3 separate regions of the Homo sapiens genome follow, and all the other regions are linked to region 2. The links are contacts of gene promoters, found by promoter capture Hi-C in blood cells and fetal thymus (Javierre and others, 2016). All regions are on one chromosome and are shown on one strand. Each heading gives the region's core, a stretch centred on a gene start or on the middle of the fragment in contact. The rest is flanking DNA. Distances are from core to core; before and after follow the strand shown.

What was found. The method cuts DNA at HindIII sites, captures the fragments that hold promoters and counts their contacts. A CHiCAGO score of 5 or more calls a contact.
Region 1: a fragment that was not itself captured here is called in contact with the fragment with the promoter of USP28 in region 2 in 3 of 17 cell types (total B cells, naive B cells and neutrophils); the score reaches 6.9 in total B cells.
Region 3: a fragment that was not itself captured here is called in contact with the fragment with the promoter of USP28 in region 2 in 1 of 17 cell types (naive B cells); the score reaches 5.5 in naive B cells.

What each region holds. Positions count from the first base shown.
Region 1 is chr11:114,109,868-114,112,567 of GRCh38, reverse strand. The region is part of intron 2 of ZBTB16 (zinc finger and BTB domain containing 16); the gene reads right to left. Among named protein-coding and RNA genes, the nearest start is that of ZBTB16, 52 kb to the right of the region's middle. RefSeq lists a silencer at 1,135-1,335. The HindIII fragment of the contact is 960 bases long and covers 849-1,808 here.
Region 2 is chr11:113,874,044-113,876,936 of GRCh38, reverse strand. USP28 (ubiquitin specific peptidase 28) reads left to right here and starts at 1,365. Exons shown (of 26, transcript NM_001346252.4): 1 at 1,365-1,492. The coding sequence starts at 1,436. RefSeq lists enhancers at 145-806, 857-1,106, 1,096-1,390 and silencers at 1,127-1,286, 1,307-1,666. The HindIII fragment of the contact is 13,869 bases long and covers 1-2,893 here.
Region 3 is chr11:114,026,884-114,029,821 of GRCh38, reverse strand. No RefSeq gene overlaps it. Among named protein-coding and RNA genes, the nearest start is that of ZBTB16, 31 kb to the left of the region's middle. The HindIII fragment of the contact is 3,700 bases long and covers 1-2,938 here.

The DNA of each region.
Region 1 (2,700 bases), core at 79-2,578, 240 kb before region 2:
AGAAGGGGTGTTTTGACGACAGCCAACTTTTTTACAGGAAGAAAAATCAATCTTTTAACATCATTCATTCTCACCAGTCTTTCTCCTCTTCCTCATCCCTCCCTTCCTCATCTTCGTGCCCTCTCTATCCCTCCCTTGCTCTCCCTCTACCTTCTCCATCTCTCATTATCCAAATACTTTTCCAAAATTTAGATTATAAAATATGACCATCAGATGCTTTATAAAATCTACGCTACAGACATCATTGTGACATTTTTTAGTTAAATAAATAATAGAAATGTTCTGTGATGAAAGGAACCATAATCAAAACTGTAGGACAAATGATAGACTGGGAAGAATCTTTGCCATGCATTTGACAGATAAAAGATTCATTTTTCTGATTTATATCGAAAGAGAACCAACAAATGTGCAAGGAAAAGGCAAAAATCCGAAAGAAAATCATGCAAAAAGTTTTAAATTTTTGATGTAGTCAAATTTACACATCTTTTCCTCTATAACCTTTGGGTTTTATTTACAACCTTTTACATATCTATTATATTATTTACAATATACATCCCCCACAAAAAAATTGACAAATGGACACCAGAGAGAAATTCTTTCTTTATTGAAGTGCGTCTGGAAGCCTCAAAAAAAAAATGTTTAAAACAGACTTGGGGTAAAAGGGGAAGAGGAAGAATGTGTCTCAACAGTAGCCAACAAAAACATTCAAGATAAATAAATTCAGCATTCTGGCATCTGTGGACCCAGAAAAACTAGGTTGCAGATTAACTTAATTAGGAAAACCACCCACAACAAACCAATAGCACCAGGAGAGGGAGACGGAAAGAAGAGACTGAAAGAATGAAGCTTTGTCAAAACAGAGGTGTCAGAATCACAAGTAAAATAACTCCCAAAGGAACTCTCAGCCCTTCATAGGACATGGTGGTCTCTGCATCTCATTCATAATGTTTGCCTTGGCTGAGGTTCTAAACCACAAAAACATCTGTACAGAAGGAAGCAACCAATTTCAGTGAAATCATACTGGAAACCTTTAACATTATTTAGCGTCATTTCATGAGAGGACAATGCAGTTAATGTTCCCCACTGGAAGGACCGTCTTGTGGTTCGCAGCGCTAGGCAGTTTCTCTCTTTCTCTCTATTGGTTTAAATGTGAAAGAGAAAGAAAAGGGGGATTTCAGAAATGGAGGGAAGAAAGAAATAAACCATCTAAGGAGCACAGCCAATTATATAGGTTGGCTTTAATTTTCAAACTAGTGCTTAAATACCAATGGTATTATTGCCTTTAGCTCTCTGGAAACTACAGTGTAATTAGGTTCACTCAACTTAACTTAAAACATGCCCAGTCATTAAAATTTTTCTTGATCCAGCCAAGTTATCTCGCGCGTGCACACACACACACACACACACACACGCAGCACAGATCTCTAAGCCAAAAGTACATCACGTCCCCAAGAAACGGCAAAAACATGTCACTGCTTTTTGGAAATCATGCTCATGTTTTGTGACCTTCCTTAAAGATAATGTTCTCACGATTAATTAATTTATGAATAGTTTTCCCCCCAACATGCACAACAGGTTCCATGCAAATTCTTGAGCTTTTAAATTATACTGTTAATGAAAGCAAATAAAGGCAGTTAAAAGGCAATTTGCTCAATTGGTGTTAATATTTAAGCACAGCATGTGTAAAAACAAGATCACAGAATTCAGTTTTTACAAAGAAAACTTTAACCCAACTTCATTTCCAAAAGATTAAACATGTTGCCAAGAATATTTTCTCCCTCTACCCTTCAGCATCAGGTAATGAAGCTTTTTATTACGTAAATATTTCACATTAACCTCATCAGTTTCTATCACTTATAAATTCCAATCTATAAAATCAAATCAGCTTAATCATGTTTAGATTAGATCCTGCATCCTGAAGGCAAACTAAATTATTTACATCCTCACTCTCCTTGGCACATTCAAGCACCAAGACTTGAAGACATCAGAATAGAAAGGTTTCCTCTGCCTTCCTATTCCCGAGGTCTCACTGGCCCTCCTTCTTTAAATCTGCATCAGTGAAACCAACATAGCAGCCTTGGCATCGGCAAATTCTTCTAAACCAACCTCACGCAAAAGCCCTAAAAGTTTACTGGCTGGGCAAAGGCTTGGCCGTGGCTTTCCCTGGAGTATTTCTAGATTCCCCTACGAAAAAGAAAACTTCCCAGGTCAGATTAGTAACAGTAACTTCCCTGGTGACCCCAGATTGCTGCCTTGGGGGACTGTGCACAGGTTGCCACAGAAGACTGCTCTGTGACTGATCTTTGACCGTAGGGTCTGGCTGAAATGCTCCACATCTCCAAGAAAGTCTGAGCCCTTCATAGGGCTAGGAAAAGGGGGTGGGGGCACAGTGGAAAGGGTTCGCTTCTCCATGACATGAGGGGCTCCACCAAGAGCCCTAAATACCGCCCCCCAGCACACACATTTGCACCTAAGTCCCCCACATTCTTCACGCCCCTTCTCTGAGAGTCTAGTCCCCTCAAAATAGAATTTCAAAATGTTACAACGTTAAATAGATGTTGAAGGCCCTCAAAGGAGTTGAATTGTGGGCTCCTTCCAGAAGTCCTCCTGTGGCCCCCGTCTGCTCTATCCTCCGGTCCTGCTCTTCTAACATACTTCAGTTTCCCTTGCTGCTCTGCCCAGCTGTTCAGCCAAACCATG
Region 2 (2,893 bases), core at 116-2,615:
CTGCACCTGACCTGTACCTGTTTCCTTTTGTCAAAAACTGCGCCCGCATGCAGACTAGGGAGGCCTGCAGGTGAAACATAACAATCCCAGCGACAACAATGCCAGGAGTATAGGAAAGGCCACCGTCCATGTTAAATTCACACTTAAAAGTGTAGCTTGAGAGTCAGACCAGACCAGGGCAAGGGTGTAGGTGCTACTCTTAAAAGACGCGCTTCCACACTCAGCCTCTACGCAGATTTGGGACACCCAGCAGCCTGTCAAGTGGGTTTGCCATCATAACACATTTGTATCTTAAATGTGAAACATGGTTCAGTAATCACAATTCCCACACAGTTGTTGAAAATACAATTCAGGCCTGGCGCGGTGGCTCACGCCTATAATCCCAGCATTATGGAAGGCCGAGACGGGCGGATCACCTGAGGTCAGGAATTCGAGGCCAGCCTGGGCAACATGGTGAAACCCTGGGTGTGGTACAGCGTGCCTGTAATCCCAGCTACTCAGGAGAATCGCTTGAACCCAGGAGGCGGAAGTTGCAGTGAGCCGAGACCGTGCGGCTGCACTCCAGCTTGAGGGGACAGAGTGAGACTCCGTCTCAAAAAAAAAGAAAAAAAAAAAAACAAACCGAAACCAACCAAACAAAAAACAATTCAATAGGAGCACCTGGTCTTTTAACATGAAATCGTAAATATCTGGCTCAAACGTAACAAAGTAACACAAAATTTTAGTTTGAACTTCTGAAAATCGAAAATGGAAAAACTGCAATTTTCCTTATCATGCCCAGGTTAAGAGCATCAGGGTTAAGGGCACCAAGCGGGACACCCATGAACGGAGGCTTTGGTCCGTTTGGTTAGCTTTAGACAAGCGACTGCATTCATCCTCCTTCTCTCCTTAAAGATGGTGAACACTTCTTCATGTCATTGGAGTTGGAAATGGCTACAAAGCCTGATGGGAAATCCTTTATTCCACGGTCATTCGGCAGTTTCCCACGGCGGGGGAACAGTTTTAACTCGCCCGTGGGGAGGGTGGAGCCGGAGGTCAGTCCTACAAATGAGGTTTTGAGGGCAGAGAGCGGAGAAGACTCAGGAACGCGGCTCCCAGGATTCGCAAACCCAGTTCCCGGACACTGGCAGCGCGGCCCGCAGCCTCCACCGGCTGTGAAGCTGACCAACAGCGACAGGCGGGGCCGGGATCACGTGACCGACGTCTGGTCAGCCGGGCGTGCGCGGGAGCACGCAGAACTGTTCGGCCCCGGGCCGCGCGCCTTGCGTGCGCGCGCATGCCGGGGGCGGGGCATGTGGGCCAAGCCTCCGGCGCGCGCTGCGGGCGGGGGCGGGACGGAGCGGGGTGGAGGGCGGGGGCGGGGCCTAGTCCTGAGAGGCTGGGCCGGCGGCGGCTGCGGCGGGAGACCGGTGACCCGCGGCTGGGCGCCTCGGCCATGACTGCGGAGCTGCAGCAGGACGACGCGGCCGGCGCGGCAGACGGCCACGGCTCGGTGGGCTCCGCGGCGGCGAGCGGGAGCTGGGGGCGGGCTCCAGGCCCTGAGGGGAGCGTGCGGGGCCTGCAGGGCTGCGGGTTGCGGGCTGCGGAGGGCGCCCCGGCCGGGCGGGACAGGGGGTGCGCCCGCCAGCGTGGGTGAGAAGGCCAAGGGCTCTGCGGGGCTCGGGCCGCGGAGATTGAGGACTGCATCTTCGCGTCCGTGGGCGAGCTGAAGTTGTAGGGGGATTTCCAGATTTTGGAAAACCAAATATAAAGGGCTGGACGTGGGGTTCTCCGCCGCAGGGATCAGTAAGGTGAGCCCTCCTGGGCCCCGTCCGGGGTGAGAAACTTCCGAAAGCGGCAGCGTTGGTTGGTTTTGTTTTGCTTTGACTTTTAAATCAGTTTTATGGCGGCGTTTTTAAAAGGTTAAAGCAGACCGAAGTTATCTCACTTAAAGTCCGGAATTAATCACCGTCTTCTATAAGACCAGGGGTCCCAGTTACCACCACTTCCCTCCCTCCCAACCCGGCTTTAAAAACAAAACAGCGCAGCCTCCCCAATTATTGCCTTCATCGCTCTAGATTTTTAAGGAGGGGGAGGAGCTGCGTGATGAATAGAAAGTCTACTGATGATGATCTCCTGTTCCCAATGTCTAAGAAGATTGAAATCAATATAAGGACTTCTGATCTAAGAATCTGGTGAGAGTGAAAGAACCCTGGTTTGAGAGAAAAGCTAATGTCTGTATGAAGAAACTTGGGAAGAGGGCAATTTGAGCATGTCTTCTAGTGTTACTTCGGAATGTTATAACTTAACACCACCTCCTCACCCCTCAAGTACTGCACTTTTTCAAGAGAAAACGGGAAATCTGTGCCAGTTGTTCAAATACGAGTTTGGAGATGAGAAACTATATTTGTCGTACAAAGCTGGCAGACAGATACCCTCAGGTGAGAATCCTTTTATACCTTTTTACTCTTTTGTCTGGAAGGCCAGTAGTATTTAGCATGGAGACACTTTTTTTTTTTTTTTTTTTTTTTTTTCGACAGAGTCTCCCTCTGTTGCCTAGGCTGGAGTGCTGTGGCGCGATGTCGGCTCACTGCATCCTCCGCCTCACCCTCCTGAGTAGCTGGTATTACAGGTGCTTGCCACCGGCCCGGCTAATTTTTGTATTTTTAGTAGAGTCGGGGTTTCACCATATTGGTCAGGCTGGTCTCAAACTCCCGACTTAAGGTGATTCGCCCGCCTCGGCCTTCCAGAGTGCTGGGATTACAGGCGTGAGCCACCGCGCCCAGTCTGGACGCACTTTTTTTTTTTTTTTTTTTCCAGACGGAGTCTCACTTTGTCGCCCAGGCTGGGGTGCAGTGGCGCGATCTCGGCTCACTGCAACTTCCGTCTCCCGGGTTCAAGCGATTCTCCTGCC
Region 3 (2,938 bases), core at 424-2,923, 150 kb before region 2:
GATACAGGATCACCATGGTCCTTTTCAGCCCCATTCTGGGTTTTCGACTTTCTCTGCTGCCCTTGGTTTGTCCCAAGGCTGTGGTACTCAGCTGCTGCTGTGGTCCTGAAGTGGAGTCTAGTGGTCCTGAAGTGGAGTCTATTATCTGCCTTGTTTATAATTCCTACCACCAAACCCAGTGATAGAAGCTGAGACCCCAAAGGTATTCCCAATTCCTACCTACAGAGGTAGAGGGTGAGGGAGAAGGGCCATAGGATCCCCACATGGCCCTTGAACTCTGCTGGAGCTTCAGAATCAACTGGGGGCAGTCTTGAAAAACACAGACGCAGGGACCCAATCCCCAGAGGCTCCAATCCAACGGATCCAAGATGTGCCCCTGGCCTGTGCAGGTGTTGAAAGCTCCACAGGTGTTCCTGATGCAAAGCTGGATGGAGAACTATTTCCCCTGGAAGGTCCACACCCAGCCCTCACTCTAAACTTCCCCTTCTCAGCTCCAGATGGTGGAAGGAGAAATACCTACACTCTCCCTGGTAAGCAATTGAGGAACACAGAGATTCTGCCTGAACTACAAGCAAGACATAGAGGCAAAAGGATGACATTCTTAACTCCAGGGTGGTTAAACCCTAGGTAAGAACACAGGTAAAGTTGTTAAGTAAAGTTGTTGAGATCCCCCCTCTGGCAGCCTTTCCAGGTTACACAGATACCCATCTGGGAGCAGAAGGTTGAGCCAAAAGACCTTTAGATCTTTAGCTTTTGTAAGATTATAAGTATTTCCATATTTTATGGATGAGGAAAATAAAGGCCAGAAAGGTTCTGTGACTCTGTGAAGGAATTGACTAGAACCCAGGTGTCTTGACTCTAAGTACGTTTTCTTTCTAGATTATTTTTTGCATCTTTTTTATTCCAGTTATATAATCTGGGCATTGAGAGAATAAAAAAAAGAGCAAAAGAAATTCCAGGATTCATAGTCATACACTGGATGTAAGGAGGACAGTGGGACCCCTGAAGAGGCTTCCAGTTCTGAGATTGTAAGATGCTACAGGGGCTTGTCATCTGGTTGAAGAGACTTTTAAATATTTGACAAAGCCGTGTATTAAATATGCAAGTTAATATGAGCATCAAGGACATGGAATGAAGGACCTAATCCGCCAGTGCTTCCTAGAAAGGGACTCAAGGCAATACCTATTTACTGCTCATCGTAAGTTGATCACCCAACTCTGTGCTTAAGGCTTTGGGGAAATCAAGAGAGGTGGATGATCTTGTGCCTGTCCACAGGGAGCTTTCTGTCTAGTTAGAGAAGCAATGTGCACATGAAAGGGCTGGAGGACACTAAAGCAAGCAAGTCACCAGGACCCAGACACAGATGCTGTGGTCTACTAGTGAGCTCTCACTTTCTCTAGATTCTGAGAAGAGTGGGGAGTTGGACCAAGTTGGACCAAGACTCCCATGGCAAAGGAGGCTCCCTGGGGATTCTGGGCAAAGATCCCAGAGGCAGTGGGGGAATGGCTGCTTTCTCCAAGTCAAGGTGTGTTGAGGGGAAGTTAAAGCTAAACATAGGCTCCTGAGATGGTCTCTCCATACCACTGGGGCCTGTGGCCAAGCCAGTGGCCTCAAAAACCCCAGCTTTCCCTCTCCCAACTGGAAATAGTGGGACCTCGTCAACCCCACCACGGACAGAGCTCTGTCTCATCAGGCAAGTGCTGTGATGAAGAGCCACCTAGTGTGCATTTAATACTGTATATAAATACACTTTACAATCACGAAGAAGACTTTCTACTCAGAGGAGACCACTGGAATATTTTATAGTGATGCAGATCAAGTGAAAAGAAGGAGAATAAATAAAAGGGAAGATAATTATCCGATGGAGTTCTTTCAGTATATGCCACAGCAGGGCATACTTACAAAGAATACATATTACTAGAGAGACACAGCTTTTCAAGCATCAAACTAACCTATAAATTGTCAGACTCGAGAATGAGAGGAAAGGAATGGGAGAGATTTGGGTGCCCATCACGCCATTAGCACTGGGTTCCGTGCTCCACCTTGCTTGCAACAGCTCTACACGCCAGCCACAGCACAGTCCCGCAGAAGGGAGACGCCACCTAATAAATGTCTCTGGAAAATTACGACTGTACTGCTACAGTAAAAAGATGGCGCCGTTTATCTCAGCACCATCTGCACAGGCTCATTTGTTGCTCCTGAGGCAGCCCACACGCACCCAGCAAGTTTGCAACTCTCCAACACTTGGAGTGTTTTCTTCACCAGGATGCTGTGGGACTTGGAATGCAAATTTCTCTCCCGGCTCTGCGAGGTCAGCAGGAGAGATGATGCAAGAGGCCTGCAGCTGGACCTCCTGGCTGGTACAAGTCACCTGCTCCAGCATCCGATCTCAAGGTAGGGACCAGGAGCCTGGAATCCTTCTCATGCCAGTGAAAGCAAACATGAAACATCGTTCGTTGTTCATCCATTCATTCAGCTATTTAACAAACAACATGGAGTAGATGCTACATGCCAGGCACTGCAATGGAAATTAGGAGTACCTGCATAGCTGGCTCATACTTCCTGCAGGTTCTTATTCAAATGTCATCTTCTCAAGGAGGTCTTCTCTGGACCTCCTTCTCTAGAATTGAAACACCTCCTTTTTATAGCAGATTTGGTCCTGCTCTGTCAATATCCCCTCAGATCCCTTTGCCATTTTCATGTGCACGGACTCCCGGCGTGTGCTCATTCCCAGTAGCCAGCACCTGTGTCCCTTTGTAGATTGACTGTCTTCAAAGCTGCTGGAATCTACTTTGCTGTAGGTGCCCGGGAATCTATACAAACTGACTCCTACCCACCCTGGAGGTAGCCTTTAAATATTCATTGAATTCATGTGTACAAATCTATCAATACTTGCCCCCAGTGGCTACTACATTGTGAGGTGTTGGGTGTTGTTGAA